3 separate regions of the Homo sapiens genome follow, and all the other regions are linked to region 3. The links are contacts of gene promoters, found by promoter capture Hi-C in human tissues and cell types (Jung and others, 2019). All regions are on one chromosome and are shown on one strand. The core of a region is centred on a gene start or on the middle of the fragment in contact, and the rest is flanking DNA. Distances in the headings are between cores, read along the strand shown. Region 1 overlaps LOC107986930 (a long non-coding RNA gene). Region 2 has its middle 62 kb from the start of NKX3-1. Region 3 holds the start of NKX3-1 (NK3 homeobox 1).

What was found. Contacts are between HindIII fragments. The study calls those that stand out against the background at their distance.
Region 1: a fragment that was not itself captured here is called in contact with the fragment with the promoter of NKX3-1 in region 3 in 1 of the 25 tissues and cell types used here (mesenchymal stem cells).
Region 2: a fragment that was not itself captured here is called in contact with the fragment with the promoter of NKX3-1 in region 3 in 1 of the 25 tissues and cell types used here (mesenchymal stem cells).

Annotation. Positions count from the first base shown.
Region 1 is chr8:23,743,561-23,748,282 of GRCh38, reverse strand. All of the region lies in intron 3 of LOC107986930 (a long non-coding RNA gene), which reads right to left. Among named protein-coding and RNA genes, the nearest start is that of NKX2-6, 39 kb to the right of the region's middle. The HindIII fragment of the contact is 5,091 bases long and covers 490-4,722 here.
Region 2 is chr8:23,618,257-23,623,084 of GRCh38, reverse strand. No RefSeq gene overlaps it. Among named protein-coding and RNA genes, the nearest start is that of NKX3-1, 62 kb to the left of the region's middle. The HindIII fragment of the contact is 6,055 bases long and covers 1-4,513 here.
Region 3 is chr8:23,681,568-23,686,229 of GRCh38, reverse strand. It overlaps NKX3-1 (NK3 homeobox 1), which reads left to right and starts at 3,292. Exons shown (of 2, transcript NM_006167.4): 1 at 3,292-3,626; 2 at 4,591-4,662. The coding sequence starts at 3,341. The region is part of intron 3 of LOC107986930 (a long non-coding RNA gene); the gene reads right to left. RefSeq lists silencers at 3,111-3,620, 3,661-3,710. The HindIII fragment of the contact is 20,085 bases long and covers 1-4,662 here.

The sequences.
Region 1 (4,722 bases), core at 1,786-4,285, 62 kb before region 3:
GCAGGAGAATCGCTTGAACCCGGGAGGCGGAGATTGCAGTGAGCCGAAATCGTGCCACTGCACTCCAGCCTGGGTGATAGAGCAAGACTCTGTCTCAAAAAAAAAAAAAAAAAAAAAAAAAAACAGATTCCCGGCCCCCATCGCAAACCCGTTCCATTCAATTATCCGTGGGTGGTGCTTGGGGCAGTTCTGACGTGGAACCCCCATGTATGAAGGTCGCTGGCCTGGGTAACCGGGTCTCCTTCCCGGAGCGCGGAGGGACCTTACCGCGGAGCCCAGATGCAAACCAAAGCGGTGCATGGCGCTAGATTCCCAGCAGAGAGCAGTGTCAGCTCAAGGTTTTCCCATGGATCTTTCTTCGGCCTTAAGGTTTCCCTCCTGACCTAAAGGCATTGTTTTAGGATTTTTTAAAATAATAAAAAAAGGTACCAAATATAATTCATAATTCTATCACTTCTTTGAATTCTATAAAGTACAATCCAATCCCACCTCACAAAGTGACTGTTAACATTCATTTGTATCCTTTCTAACTTGTTCCTAAGTTGAAACACACGAGTCCATTGTGCATTTACACATACCCATACATATGTGCATGTAAACTCTTTTTTTTAAATGTGGAATTATATAAAATTTCTTGGTCCATAACTCATACTTTTCACTTTAACAAATATATCATGATATCTTTTTTCCAAGTCCATACATTTTTATAGTGGATATGTGCTATTTCACTGTATTATCACTGAAATATACATTAATGAATAGATTTTTTTTGTTGTTTTTCAGTTACAAATGCCAGTCCAATTACTGTCCTGGGGCATACATCTTTATGTAATTATGGCATTGCTTTTGTAAAATAGAAACAATTGTTAAGTCAAGGAGCCCAGGAGTTTGAGGGTACAGTGAACTATGACCACGTCACTGCTCCAGCCTAGGCAAGAGTCTGTCTCCAAAAAAATAAAAATAAATTTTTTAAAACGGAATTGTTAATTCAAAGGACATACTCAATTTGTAGGGGTTTTTTGTTTTATCAATTATTGAATAGTTTAAAAATATATTTTGACATGTTCTGAGTATAAATCATACCAAATACTCAGAAGGCAATTTTTTTAATTTAGCTTTTTTTTTTTTCTGGTGGTAGTTGTTATAAAATTGGCTTATTTCCCCAATTACAAGTATTTTGAGACAGGAATATTTTTGTGGTCACTAAACCACTCCATGGATACAAAAGAATATTGCTTAGGATGTACTACTGATTTATTTTAGCATTAAAAAAAAAAGCCTCTGTGTTGCCTCATGTTTTACAAAAGATATAAAAAGTAATTCATATTTAAATCTCTGTTACACTCCTTATGGACAAAATCAGAGAAGCAAATAGACTCCAAGTTGCACAGTGGTGCTGGGATTACTTCTGTTAAAAATTGCAAGGCAGGGGCCGGGTGTGGTGGCTCACGCCTGTAATCCCAGCATTTTGGGAGGCGGAGGTGGGAGGATCACCTGTAGTTGGGAGTTTGAGACCAGCCTGACCAACATGGTGAAATGCCATCTCTACTAAAAATACAAAATTAGCCGGGTGTGGTGGCGCATGCCTGTAATCTCAGCTACTCGGGAGGCTGAGGCAGGAGAATCGCTTGAACCCGGGAGGCAGAGGTTGTGGTGAGCCAAGACTGCACCATTGCACTCCAACCTGGGCAACAAGAGTAAAAAAGAAAGAAAGAAAGGAAGAAAGAAAGAAAGAGAGAGAAAGAAAGAAAGAAAAAAACCAAGAAAGAAAAAGAAAGAAAGAAAAAGAAAGAAAGAGAGAGAGAGAGAGAGAGAGAGAGAGAGAGAGAAAGAAAGAAAGAAAGAAAGAAAGAAAGAAAGAAAGAAAGAAGAAAGAAAGAAAGAAAGGAAAGAAAGAAGGGAGGGAGGGAGGGAAGGAAGGAAGGAAAAGAAAAGAAAAGAAAGAAAGAGAAAGAAAGGAGGGAGGCAGGGAAGGAGGGAGGGAAGGAAGGAAGGGAAAGAAAGAGAGAGAAAGAAAGAAAAGAGAGAGAGAGAACGACGGAGGGAGGGAGGAAGAGAGAGAGAGAGAAAGAAAGAGAGAAAGAGAGATTGCAAGGCAGACATGGATTTCATGCTACTTTCAGGGTCCAGCCCTTTCGGTTTCTTCCAAGCTCCTATATTCTCATTGGGATAAAAAGGGTCATTTGGTTAAATTGTACCTGCTTGCCATGCCTCCCTTGAAAGGGACCCTTCAAGGGACTCCCTTGAAGGAGACCCGGTTACCCAGGCCAGAGACCTTCAAACCTGGGGGTTGCGTCAGAACTGCCCCAAGCGCCACCCACATGTAATTGAATGGAATGGGTTTGCGATGGGGACCAGGAATCTGTTTTTTTGTTGTTGTTTTTTGACACGGAGTCTTGCTGTATCACCCAGGCTGGAGTGCAGTGGCACAATCTCGGCTCACTGCAACCTCCGCCTCCAGAGTTCAACCCTTGAAAGCTGAGTTTTTGCTAGATCAGGCAGTTGCCAGGTCAGGCAGTAACCAGGTGCTAGGCTCTTGTGAGTTTCCAATTTGAGACTAAAAAAAAAACCTGATGTGTTATCAGTGGGGATAGAAGGCCCCTTGTTTAAAAGTCTTTGGGAGATTTTCTTTCTGGGAAGAAATTTCCATTTCTCTGGAAATGATACCACAAGCTTAAGGGCAAGCAGGTAAGTAACCAAAAAAGGCAGGTCCAGGACCTTGGTTCAATTTGCACCCAAGAAGGCAGACAAGGGATTCACAACATTGAGAATTCAAACTCCTCAGTGCCCTCCCTCTGAATCCCCAACACTAGAGGCAACAAAAGCAAAAGTTGAATATACAATTTGGAAAAAAAAAATCTTGAAGGAGTTTTTAAGAGATATTTTTCCACATCTAAGCAGATTAAAAGTTGCATAGAAATGAAAGATGGCATTGGATTTTGCAATATCAAAGTTTGAGTGGTATGTGGCAGGAAGCCTCCCAGGCAGTAGAAGCTGGCTTGATCTCTTTCTAAAGGTCTAGACTGGAGGTTTTCCTGGAGAAAACCACAACCGTTTTCTCCACTTTTCGGCTACTGGAGCTGCCAGTACTTCCTTGTGTTTGACTCAACCCCACATCGTTCAATCCCACAGCTATGATATGACTTCAGCTTACTAACTGAAATCTAAATTCCAGTTCTTCTATGTCACTGAGCAACAAAAGAAGAAAATTGTAAAATACAGTACACAAGAAATGGAGAAAATGTAAATGACACCTTAATTGTTATCATCATTTGCTTTAAAAAGTTAATTTTAAACATTTCTCTTGCATATTAATTTTTGAAAGAGAAGACTATCTATTCAACTAGAAATAGATGCCTGCCACTGCAACAAAAGAATAATATGAGAAACCAAAGTTCAAAAGTTGAAGATGCAATAAGAAGGGAGTAATAAATTGGCCTCCCTAGGCCAGGTAGAGAGTAGGGGGTGGGACAAAGGTGACCAAACAGTTTACTAAATGAGAGGCACCACTTCCCTCCCAGAAGAGTAAAGAACAGTGATTCTCAGCCAGGTGGGCCAGGCACTTGTCATGCTATTCATGGTTAGGAGACTGTTATGCCGACTGACCTGTCTAAATTACGCTCAAAGGAGGATGAGGGGAGAACCAGTGTTGTTTAATTAACTGAATCTTGGAAAGCAGGATGTCTCCTAACCAGCAAAAGACCTAACAGGGTCATCAGTGTCTCCACTGGCTAGGCTTACCATTTTTTGTCAAGCAGCCATATAAACTCCTTCCCCTCCAAAAAAAAAGTGTCTGTCTGGATGACAAAGTGTCAAGATACTTGATAATCTGCAGACAGAAGGTATTTCATGAGCAGAACAAACACAATACCTGGATATTTTTTTATTCAAAATGAATTCATCTGAAAGTAAAATAACCCATTCCACTGAGTTCTCCAAAGCATCTACACATCGCTGAAAGCAGCGTGGCTTTCCTCATTAATATCATAAGAAGTTTTTAAGGTACGAGATGGCACAGTGGTGGTCTAGGGACATGCTTAGAAATCTCATGCTTGGAGGAGCCGGGGATCCTGCACACACACACTTTCCAAGACCTGAAAACAAAGGCCTCAGGGTAGACCACACTGCAGTTCAGGGTGTTTTGAGTACTGAAGAGTGAGTAGGGAAAGGCACCAATGTGAAACCTCATAGATTTGTAGGACTGTTGAGGTGGGAGTTGGGGGAAGAGAGGAGAGGAGAGCAGGAAAGGAGAAAATCTGTCCCAGAGCCAGTCCTCAGCGCATAAATAATAGCAGCCAGTATTTCGCCCACCTCACATAGTCATCAAGACCCCATGACTACTGTCCCATCACCGTAAGGAACACCATGTGATTTTCATTAATTGTTTGAACCGGTCAACTGATTATTCTCTTTAAAAAAATCATAACATCTCTGGTCTTTCACTTTCAATCTGGAGCTTTGTAAAGTAGCTATTTGTCTGGGATGACAGAAGTTGTCAGCAGGTATTCTGCCCGTTTCCAGGTAAGGCTGAACACCAGGATTTTGTTCATCCAGTTTCCTCTCAATGGGTCATCCCGACCTGTAAATGTGGACTTGGGGAATGTTACCTGCAGGCCAGCTTAAGATCATTCCAGAAGAATTTGAATACTGAGCTCATTCTTCCACTTTTTTAAAAGAAACAGACATCAGGATATGATTTTATTCAAATCTTTGCCTTTCTAT
Region 2 (4,828 bases), core at 237-2,736, 61 kb after region 3:
AAAGACAGAAAGAAGTGGAAAGAGGTGTTCACAGCGTGAGAGCTTCTTCTCAAACAGGGGCTCCTTCCTCTGCCACCTTCCTGCTCAAAGCAGTCTGCCTCCTATCCCCGCGCGGCTCCCTGGGGCTAGGGACCCTCCAATGCTTGTGCACAAAGAGGCGGCGCAGTCTTTCCAGCTAACACAGCTCTAGTCAGCTGACCCTTAGTCAGATGCCACTAACTTCTGTCCCCGCTCACACTCACCCTTTCTCCTCTCCTCCCCAATTCTAGCCTTTTTTCAGGTAGGTGGAAGGATATTGAAGGAGTTTCCACTGGATACTTTTTATAAAAAAAAAAAAAAAAAAAGGAGGAGAAACAGCCATCTCAGACTGCGGGAATAGGTCATGGGGTCAGAAATTTAAGAAAAGTCAAAGTTTTTCATTGCTATGCTGGAGGAAAAAAGCAAGGCCTGATTGAGGAAACAGGAAGGCTGTGTGGTTTTGCAACTTTCTTCCAGTTCCACTCACAGAAAAGACAGACTTTAGATTCATCCATTATCCCCTCCCTCCTCTCACTCATTGCAGGTGCCTTGCCTTGAGAGTAAGGAGTTTTATTTTGCTTTGTTTTGTTTTGTTTTCCCAGAAGGACTCTTGGTTCATTACAAATCAAATTACAGAGAATGAGAATAAGAAGGAGAAGTTTTTCAATACAAGGTGCTGAGACTAGCCCAAGCCCACTGTCTCAGCATTTTGGCATGTCACTTCGCCTCTCTGGATCTTAATTCCCTTTGACATTTAGGATAATACCATCAATCCAATCTACCACGTGGGAAGGTTGAAAGAAACATGCCAGATAATGTATGTGAAATAATTTTTAAAAGTATAAAGTTGCTCTAAGAGTAGAAGGTGCTATTGATATCAAATCACTGTTTTAAGTGCTTTGTGAGAAATAAGTTTGAGTAAGAATTCTTTACCAAAGAGTTACAATACAATTAGGGAGGCAAGACATAGAGCAGATGGCACAGTGCAGAACAGATGATAGTATCAGGTGGCCTATGGTAAGGGTCAGGATGGTGGTGCAGGTGCAAGTTGGTGGCTAGAGACCTGCCAACTACACAAATGCAGAGTGAAGAGTGATATTAAAGGGACGGGAGCTGTTTCAGGTTGCATATGACTCCCAAAAAGGTATGTTAGAGACTCAACCCCCAGTACCTCAGAAGGCAACCTTATTTGGAAAATAGGGTCCTGCAGATGTAGTTAAGATAAAACCCTACTGGATTTGGGTAGGTGTTTAATCCAATGTGACTGCTGTCCTTACCAGAAGGGGAAAGAGAGAGACAAGGAAGAGAATGCCAAGCGAAGACATACGTGCAGAGAATGACATAGGATAAAGGGAAGAGAGACTTAAACTGTGCACCTGCAAACCAAGAAAGGTAACGGGTGGCCAGCAAATCACCAGAAGCTAGGAAAAGCCTGCAGGGATCCTCCAATACAGTGTTTGTTGGTTGGTTTTTTGTTTTTTGCTTTGAAATGGAGTCTCACTCTGTTGCCCAGACTGGAGGGCAGTGGCATGATCTCGGCTCACTGCAACCTCCACCTCCCAGGTTCAAGCGATTCTCCTGCCTTAGCCTCCTGATTAGCTGGGACTACAGGCACATGCCACCATGCGCAGCTAATTTTTGTATTTTTAGTAGAGGTTTTACCATGTTGGCCAGGCTGATCTCAAACTCCTGACCTCAAGTGATCCGCCCACCTCAGCCTCCCAAAGTGCTGGGATTGTAGGCGTGAGCCACCAGGCCCAGACTCTCACATAGGTTTTAGAGGGAGTGTGGATGGCCCTGTGGACACCTTGATTTCAGACTCCTGGCCTCCAGAATGGCAATAGAATACCTTTCTGTCGTTTTTAGCCACCCAGTTTGTAATACTTTGTTATAGCAACCACAGGAAACTAATATAAAAGTTGAGCAGGGTCTTGTAAGCTATGCCATAGTCCCATAGGCACAGCTGGGGAGAGGCAATTATGCATGTCCTGTTATATCACAGTGAGGGATGAACTTCACCAGTCAAGTGAATCATTTCTCAATATGCTAGAATATATTGGAATAATATCTGTGTTCCCTCTGTCTAAAATCAGCAATTTCTACTTTACTATATAGTAACCGGTATTATCATAGCTTTGTTGCTTAATATATTTGGTTTGGCTGCACAAACTCTTTTTTAATTACTTCTCCTTGCCTATTATCGGTTTATTGCCCATGAAGAATCATGCTGACCCTGTTCTTATTTTTTTTTAAATCAATGTTTGGCTTTCACGTTTATTGATATTCAGATCTTAGTGGTCCGTACCCATGTCCTAATAATTTTTGACAAGGAGTTCTGAGGAGAGCATTCTGAAATGACCTCAGAAGCAACTCCTAAAGCACTGTGAGCCCTGTTTGATACTCCATAGATTCTGCTTCAAGGAAATCCTGTTCCCTGAAGAAGTTGTTATGGTCTATTGGACCAGTATCATACCTTGAGAAAGATCTAAGAGCCGTATTTACACATATAGCTGTCATAGATCCAAAGTAGCCATTAAAGATGATTAGGTAAATAGAACAATTTCAAATGTCCCTAAATACATATTTGCAGGATAATAGCCTATTGGATGAGGTGTTTCTCTTTTAATAGGCCCAGCTTTTAAAAATGAAACTCTGGTTGGGTTACAAGCCCGCTAGATAGCACTGCCCCATCTCTATGTATTGCCAATTAATATATCATGGTTGTATCTGATAATGTCTTAGCAATCTTTGGGCCCTGTAATAATGATGGGGAGTATGTAACATTTGTTCAATGCAGGGCTCAGGACACAAATCAGTATTCTAGTTTTAGAGCAGAGGCTTCTACGTGGGTGCCCCCACAGGTAGTAATTGATGTCTGTGTGCTATTTTAATTGTTTCAGAAACTATCAGAAATTATTCATTTGCATTCAAACCACCACAAGGTCTAATTCAAGGGTCAATTGTGCATTACAAAGTTAAGAGTTTAGAGTCTGGAGCCAGACTGTCTGAATTTCATTCAGCATCACAATTCACCAGCTGTGAAACCTTGTCCAGTTTACTCAGCTTCCCTGAACCTCAGTTTCCTCATCGGTAAAATAGGGGTGATAATAGTACCTACAGCATAGGTTGCTTCTGAGGCTCACCTGATTTGATGCAGGGAAGTCACTTAGGGTAGTGCCTGACAGATAGTCAGTTCTCAAGAAATGCTTATTAAGACTTTTTGCTTTTAGCTAAATTTTATGAATTCCAACCAGACATTTTATGCTAACCAGAAACTCTGCTTTGCAATGGCATATGTCTCAAATTAATTCTTATTAATCATTAAATATTATTTATCTATAAGATATCTCTTAAAGCCTGATTTTTGCAATGGAAAAAATAGACGGGGTCATTGGTGGTGACAATGCTGGGGATCATTTTTCCTTCTTTTTTTTTAAGATTCTCTTGCTTGTTTTTAATGATTCTCATGTTGACACAGTATCCAAACCATGAAAGAATATCCAGAGAATCCAGTCCTGTAAAACATTGTAGTCTTTCTTTTTTGTTTTTCAGAGACAGGCTCTTGCTCTTGCCCAGGCTGGGGTCCAGTGGCACCATCATAACTCACCGCAACCTCAAACTCCTGGGCTCAAGTGATACTCCTTCCTCAGCCTTTCAAGTAGCTAGGACTACAGGTGTGTGCCACCATACCTGATGATTTTCTTTTTTTTTGTAGAGACAAGTCTTACTATGCTACCCAGGTTGGTCTTGAATTTCTGAGGTCAAGTGACTCCCCCATCTCAGCCTCCCAACGTTCTGAGATTACAGGTGTGAGATGCTATACCTGGCCTATAGTCTTAATATAATAGTAACAATCACTTAGCAATTAGATGCAGCCTCTGATTCTGTCTCTCTCAATTTCCTGTTAACATATCCAAGGAGATTCAGAAAAGTATGAAAATGAAAACTGCATGCTGATTGGTACTTGAATAACCAAATCGGGGAGGAATTTCCACAAGATAAAGCGGTTGGAGCAGACGTGAAGGAAAAACCTACCCAGCATGATATAGAACTTAAAAATGTAAAGCACCAAAATTGAAACCCACACAGGAAGAAGTAAATAGCAGAATGAATACTACAGACATGGTCATCACCATTCAAGTCTCAGTTTAGGGGTCACCTCCTCTAAAAAGCGTTCCTGTAACCCCTCAAGCTGACCCAGGTGTCTCTTTGCCTGTTGTCTGAGTTCTCAGTGCAGCATCTGCATTCTTCTACCATATCACCCACACATCATATTGATATTATCAGTTTCTAGATCTAAGTCTAAATCTAAATTGTATGGGCCACGTGCTAGTCCTGTTTGCATCTCCTGAAACTGGCAGAATGGTTGGTCCACTGCAGGTCTTCCATTGGACCATTCTGTTATGGTCCGATAGACCATAACAGCTTCTTCAGATAGGTCAATTGTTTACTGAATTATCCAGTGTTTTGCCAAAAGCCAGGTACACTCTCTGCTGCACTTTCCTGAACTATGAATTTTGTAGTCCATCAAAAGAAAGGAATTGGGTTATTCATTTATTCACTCATTTATCAGTATCTTCTGAGTTTCCACCATGTGACAGACATTACACATGTATTCTGCCCAATATGACTTATGTCTTTGGTCATGAGCTGATGCCTAGTATGGATAATTCCTTTTTTAGGTTCTCAGGAATGATTCCTCTAATAATTTATTCAGAGCCTAATACTTTCGAACCTTTCTAAAATCAATGTCAAGTTCATTGGTCTATAATGGGATCAACATATTTTCTTCATTGTTTCAAAATTTAGA
Region 3 (4,662 bases), core at 2,043-4,542:
AACCAGTCTCTGACCAAATTGAAGATATGTTCCCAAGTCAATACATTGTGTATTTGTGCACTTCTAGGGCACATTGCCAAACACAGAATAGCTGTGTCAAAGGATATGCTCAGTTTTAATTTTGACAAATATTCCCAAGTTGTCATCCAAAAACAGTCATGCATCCTTAGGGACAAGAATATGTTCTGAGAGATGCAATGTTAGGCAATTTCATTGCTGTGCAAACATCATAGAGCTACTTACACAAACTTAGATGGATGTAGTCTACTACACACCTAGGCTACATGGTATGCCCTATTGCTCCTAGGCTACAGACATGTACAGCATGTTACTGTACTGAATACTGTAAGCAAAGGTAATACAATGGTAAGAATTTGTGCATGTAAACATATCTAAACATAAAAAGGTACAGTAAAAATACAGTATCATAACCTTATGGAACCACCGTCATATATGCTGTCTGTCACTGATCAAACGTCACGATGCAGTGCATGGCTGTATGAGAGCAGCTGTTCCTCCACACTCTCACTTACACTGGACATTATCCATTTTTTTTAACCTTTGTCAATCTGAAAGGTGGAAAAGGCTCGTCTCAATGTGATTTTGATTTGCATTCCTTCACTGATGAAGTGTAGTTAAAATATTTTTTTCACGTGCTCGTTTGTGTTTTACATCTTTGAGCTGTCTGGAATTTATTTTGTCATAAGAATAGGACTTTATCTTTTCCAAATGGCAGCACTTGTTATTAAATAATTCATACCCAACTCTCAATTTTAGAAATAAAAGGAGGCCATCTCAATCTAAACCTCACACTATATACAAAAATTAATTCTGAAGGAATCATGGATTGAAGAGTAAAGCATAAAACTTTTAGAAGATAACATAGGAGCAAATCTTCAGTATTAGGACTAAACAAAGAGTTCTTAGGCAGGACATCAAAATCACATTCTGTAAAATTCAAAAATTCATAAATTGATCTTCAATGAAATTAAAATCTTTTGTTCTGTTGAAGATCCTGTTAGAGGGATGGAAACACAAGCTACAGACTGGGAGATAATATTTGCAAATAACCTACCAAACAAAGACTTACAAACAGCAATATATAAAGAACTATCATAACTCAATGGTTAAAAAATAAAAGAAAGAAAAATTCAATTATAATATGAGCAAAAGGCTTGAACAGATATTTCACCAAAGAGGAAATATGGATGGCAAACAAGCACATGACAAGGTATTCAACATCTCTAGGCATTTGTGAAATGCAAATTAAAAATTTAAACCACAATAAGGCCCAGCACAGTGGCTCACACCTGTAGTCTCAGCACTTTGGGTGGTGGAGGCGGAAGGATTGTTTGAGCCCAGGGCTTTGAGACCAGCCTGGGCAACAGGGTGAAACCTTATCTTTACAAAAACTACAAAAATTAACTGGGCAGGGTGGCACACACCTGTAGTCCCAGCTATTCAGGAGGCTGAGGTGGGAGAATCTCCTGAGCCCAGGAGGTTGAAGTTGCAGTGAGCCATGATCTCTCCACTGCACTCCAGCCTGGGCAACAGAGCAAGACCCTATCTCTAAATAAATAAATAAATGACGTCTGTAGTCTAGTTAACTGTAATGTCCCAACGTAAATTTCCTGTTTTCTACATTGTCCTACAGTTGTATAGATGTCTTTGGAGGACACTGGAGGTATTATTTTTGCAACTTCCTGTGAATCTACAATGATTCAAAAGAAAACATTAAAGAATGTTCTAATATAAAGAGACTTTGAAAAGATGAGAGAAGAAAACCAGCTTTGCCAAAGTCTTTCCCGTTGCACAGGTAGTTTTCTTTGGCGGTCGCTTTATCAGCAATAACCTATTAACTTTCCTTCCTCCAGAGACACATGACATACCATCCTTTTGAAAAGTTGCCAGTTGAATAGAAGCCGTCTTAGACCAGGACAGACAAAAAAGTTGCATTAAAAAAATGGTTCTAAAAAACATCAGCCTACCCTTTTTCCAGATTACCAACTGTTACCATTTAACCCATCGGCTTTATGGCGTGGGATCTATCAATCTGCATCCTTGTTTCAGAACCATTTGATGTAAGTTTCATAAATCTTGTGCCTTTGCTCCTACTTACTTCAGTGTTTATTTCCTAAAAATATTCTCTTGTACACTGACAGTACAATGTGCAATTTCAGTAAATTTAACATTAATTCAATACTTCCATCATCGACCTGACACTGAGACTCATGCCTGTAGTCCTGGCACTTTGAGAGGCCAAGGCAGGAGGATCACTTGAATCCAGGAAATCGAGGCTGCAGTGAGTTATGATGGCATCACTGCACTCCAGCCTGGGCGGCAGAGGGAGACCCTGTCCGTAAAAAAAAGAAGAGAAAAGACAAGGAAAGAAAATACTTCCATCATCTCTGTTCCACTTTCGTCTGTTGTCACGGTACCGTCCAGTCCAGTCACAGTACCGGTTGGACCAATCTGGCTAACCCATTGTTTAGCCAATGGGTTACATGTTAACAGTTGGTAATCTGCAAAAAGAGTATGCTGATGTTCTTTTGAACTACTTTTTTAAATGCAGTTTTTGCATTTGTCCTGGCCTAAAACGCCTTCCATCCGTCTGGAAACTTTTCAAAAGGATGGTATGTCATGTGTCTGGGGAGGAAGGAAAGTTAACAGGTTATTGCGGATAAAGGAACCACCAAAGAAAACCACTTCTGCAACGGGAAAAGGCTTTGGCAAAGGTGTTTTCCTTCTTTCAGCCTGGGGTCTGGCTGCACCTACTTGTCATGCCTCTTTGAGGTCGTAGATATTGCAGATCTGAGTTTGCACCATCTCTCCCAGAGAGAGAGAGCACCCAGAACTCTCACGGTACCGCGCGGCTGCAGTGACTGCGTGCTCATCCCCTGTAATTGGCTCTGACGGTCCTGAAGAGCTAACTGGACTGTTTGTCTTGATCGTCCCATCCCCAGGAGCTTCTCTCTGTTGCGGGTGGGTTGGGGCAGAGGAGCCCCGCTTTGGGGTGCGCTCCTGGCCTGGGAAAACGGCTCAGGGCGGAGGGAGGAGAGCTGGAGAAGGAGAGGAAATTGGGGAAGGAGAGGGAATTGGGGAAGGAGAGGGAACTGGGGAAGGAATCCCCTAGGGAGGAGCGGAGCGGGGCAGTGCTCAGGGCTCGCAGATCGGCGGGGTCACCTGGGGCTCAGGGCGGCCAATCCGCGGCGCGGCCCGTCCCGCGGCCAATGGGAGGGCGGCGCGGCCCGCTCCCCTGGGCTATAAGCGAGCCGGGAGGCGGAAAGTGAAAGCGGTGCGGGCCGGGCGGGTGCATTCAGGCCAAGGCGGGGCCGCCGGGATGCTCAGGGTTCCGGAGCCGCGGCCCGGGGAGGCGAAAGCGGAGGGGGCCGCGCCGCCGACCCCGTCCAAGCCGCTCACGTCCTTCCTCATCCAGGACATCCTGCGGGACGGCGCGCAGCGGCAAGGCGGCCGCACGAGCAGCCAGAGACAGCGCGACCCGGAGCCGGAGCCAGAGCCAGAGCCAGAGGGAGGACGCAGCCGCGCCGGGGCGCAGAACGACCAGCTGAGCACCGGGCCCCGCGCCGCGCCGGAGGAGGCCGAGACGCTGGCAGAGACCGAGCCAGGTAAGCGGCGAGGCCGGGGAAGGGGGGCAGCCCAAGGCGGACCCCCAGAGCTCGGGGTGCAGGGACGCGGGGCTCCGCGGCGACAGGCAGAGGGACCTTCCCGCCTCCGCAGCCACGCGCGCGCCCCCGGAATGAACCCTGAGCCCCAGCGTCAGGGCGGCGCAGGATTCTGACACCGCAGGACTCGCCCGGCTCCGTGCCCTCCGCTCCCTGGGGCTCAGAAGCCGGCGCGACTGCAGCGCCACCGCCCTCCACCGTCCCAGGAGCGGATCCCGCCCCGCGCCACCCGCGATCGGCGCCAGCCCCCCGGTAGTTATGAGAACTAATAATAACTTATTAACAGTGACAAAGCAGGGGTTGACCAGCAAAGCCTCCGTGTGCTTCCCAATCCCGTGGGCAGTAAAGCGGTATATTCGGGGTTCCCTCCGGTGTCCAGGAGAGAGAGTCCACTTATTTTCTTTCCTGTCACTTCTGATGAGGCGACCGAACGCCTCGTTTAGCGAAGAGGGAATTAAAGCCCAGAATGAGCCTGCCTCTGCGTCTCCAGTGGCACAAGCCCTCTCTTGCCCACCTGGATCCTAACACCGGATGTCTTTTGGTCTGGCCTTCCCGGGTATCTTGTTCCACGGCATTTTCCCTGCCTCCCTCTCCCGCCTCTCCTCAGCACACAGATCCAGAATCCCCATATAATTCTACTAGACAGTAGGGAGAAAGTTCAACCACGAAACGTCTCTAACTTTGGGTTCTTGATGATTCTTAGCAAATGAATGCGTAATAAACATATTTACTCACTCTTCACTCCGGAGAGCTCCTTAGTCATGTGAAAAAAGTGAAATGTATCCACGATGACAGTGGGCTGTTTGTTCACTCACTAAAGAGATAAGGGTGGATTGAATTCTGTTCTCTTCCCTGCTAACATGTAACTTTTGTCTTCCCATCCCTCCTTCCCCACTCTCCTTTCCAGAAAGGCACTTGGGGTCTTATCTGTTGGACTCTGAAAACACTTCAGGCGCCCTTCCAAGGCTTCCCCAAACCC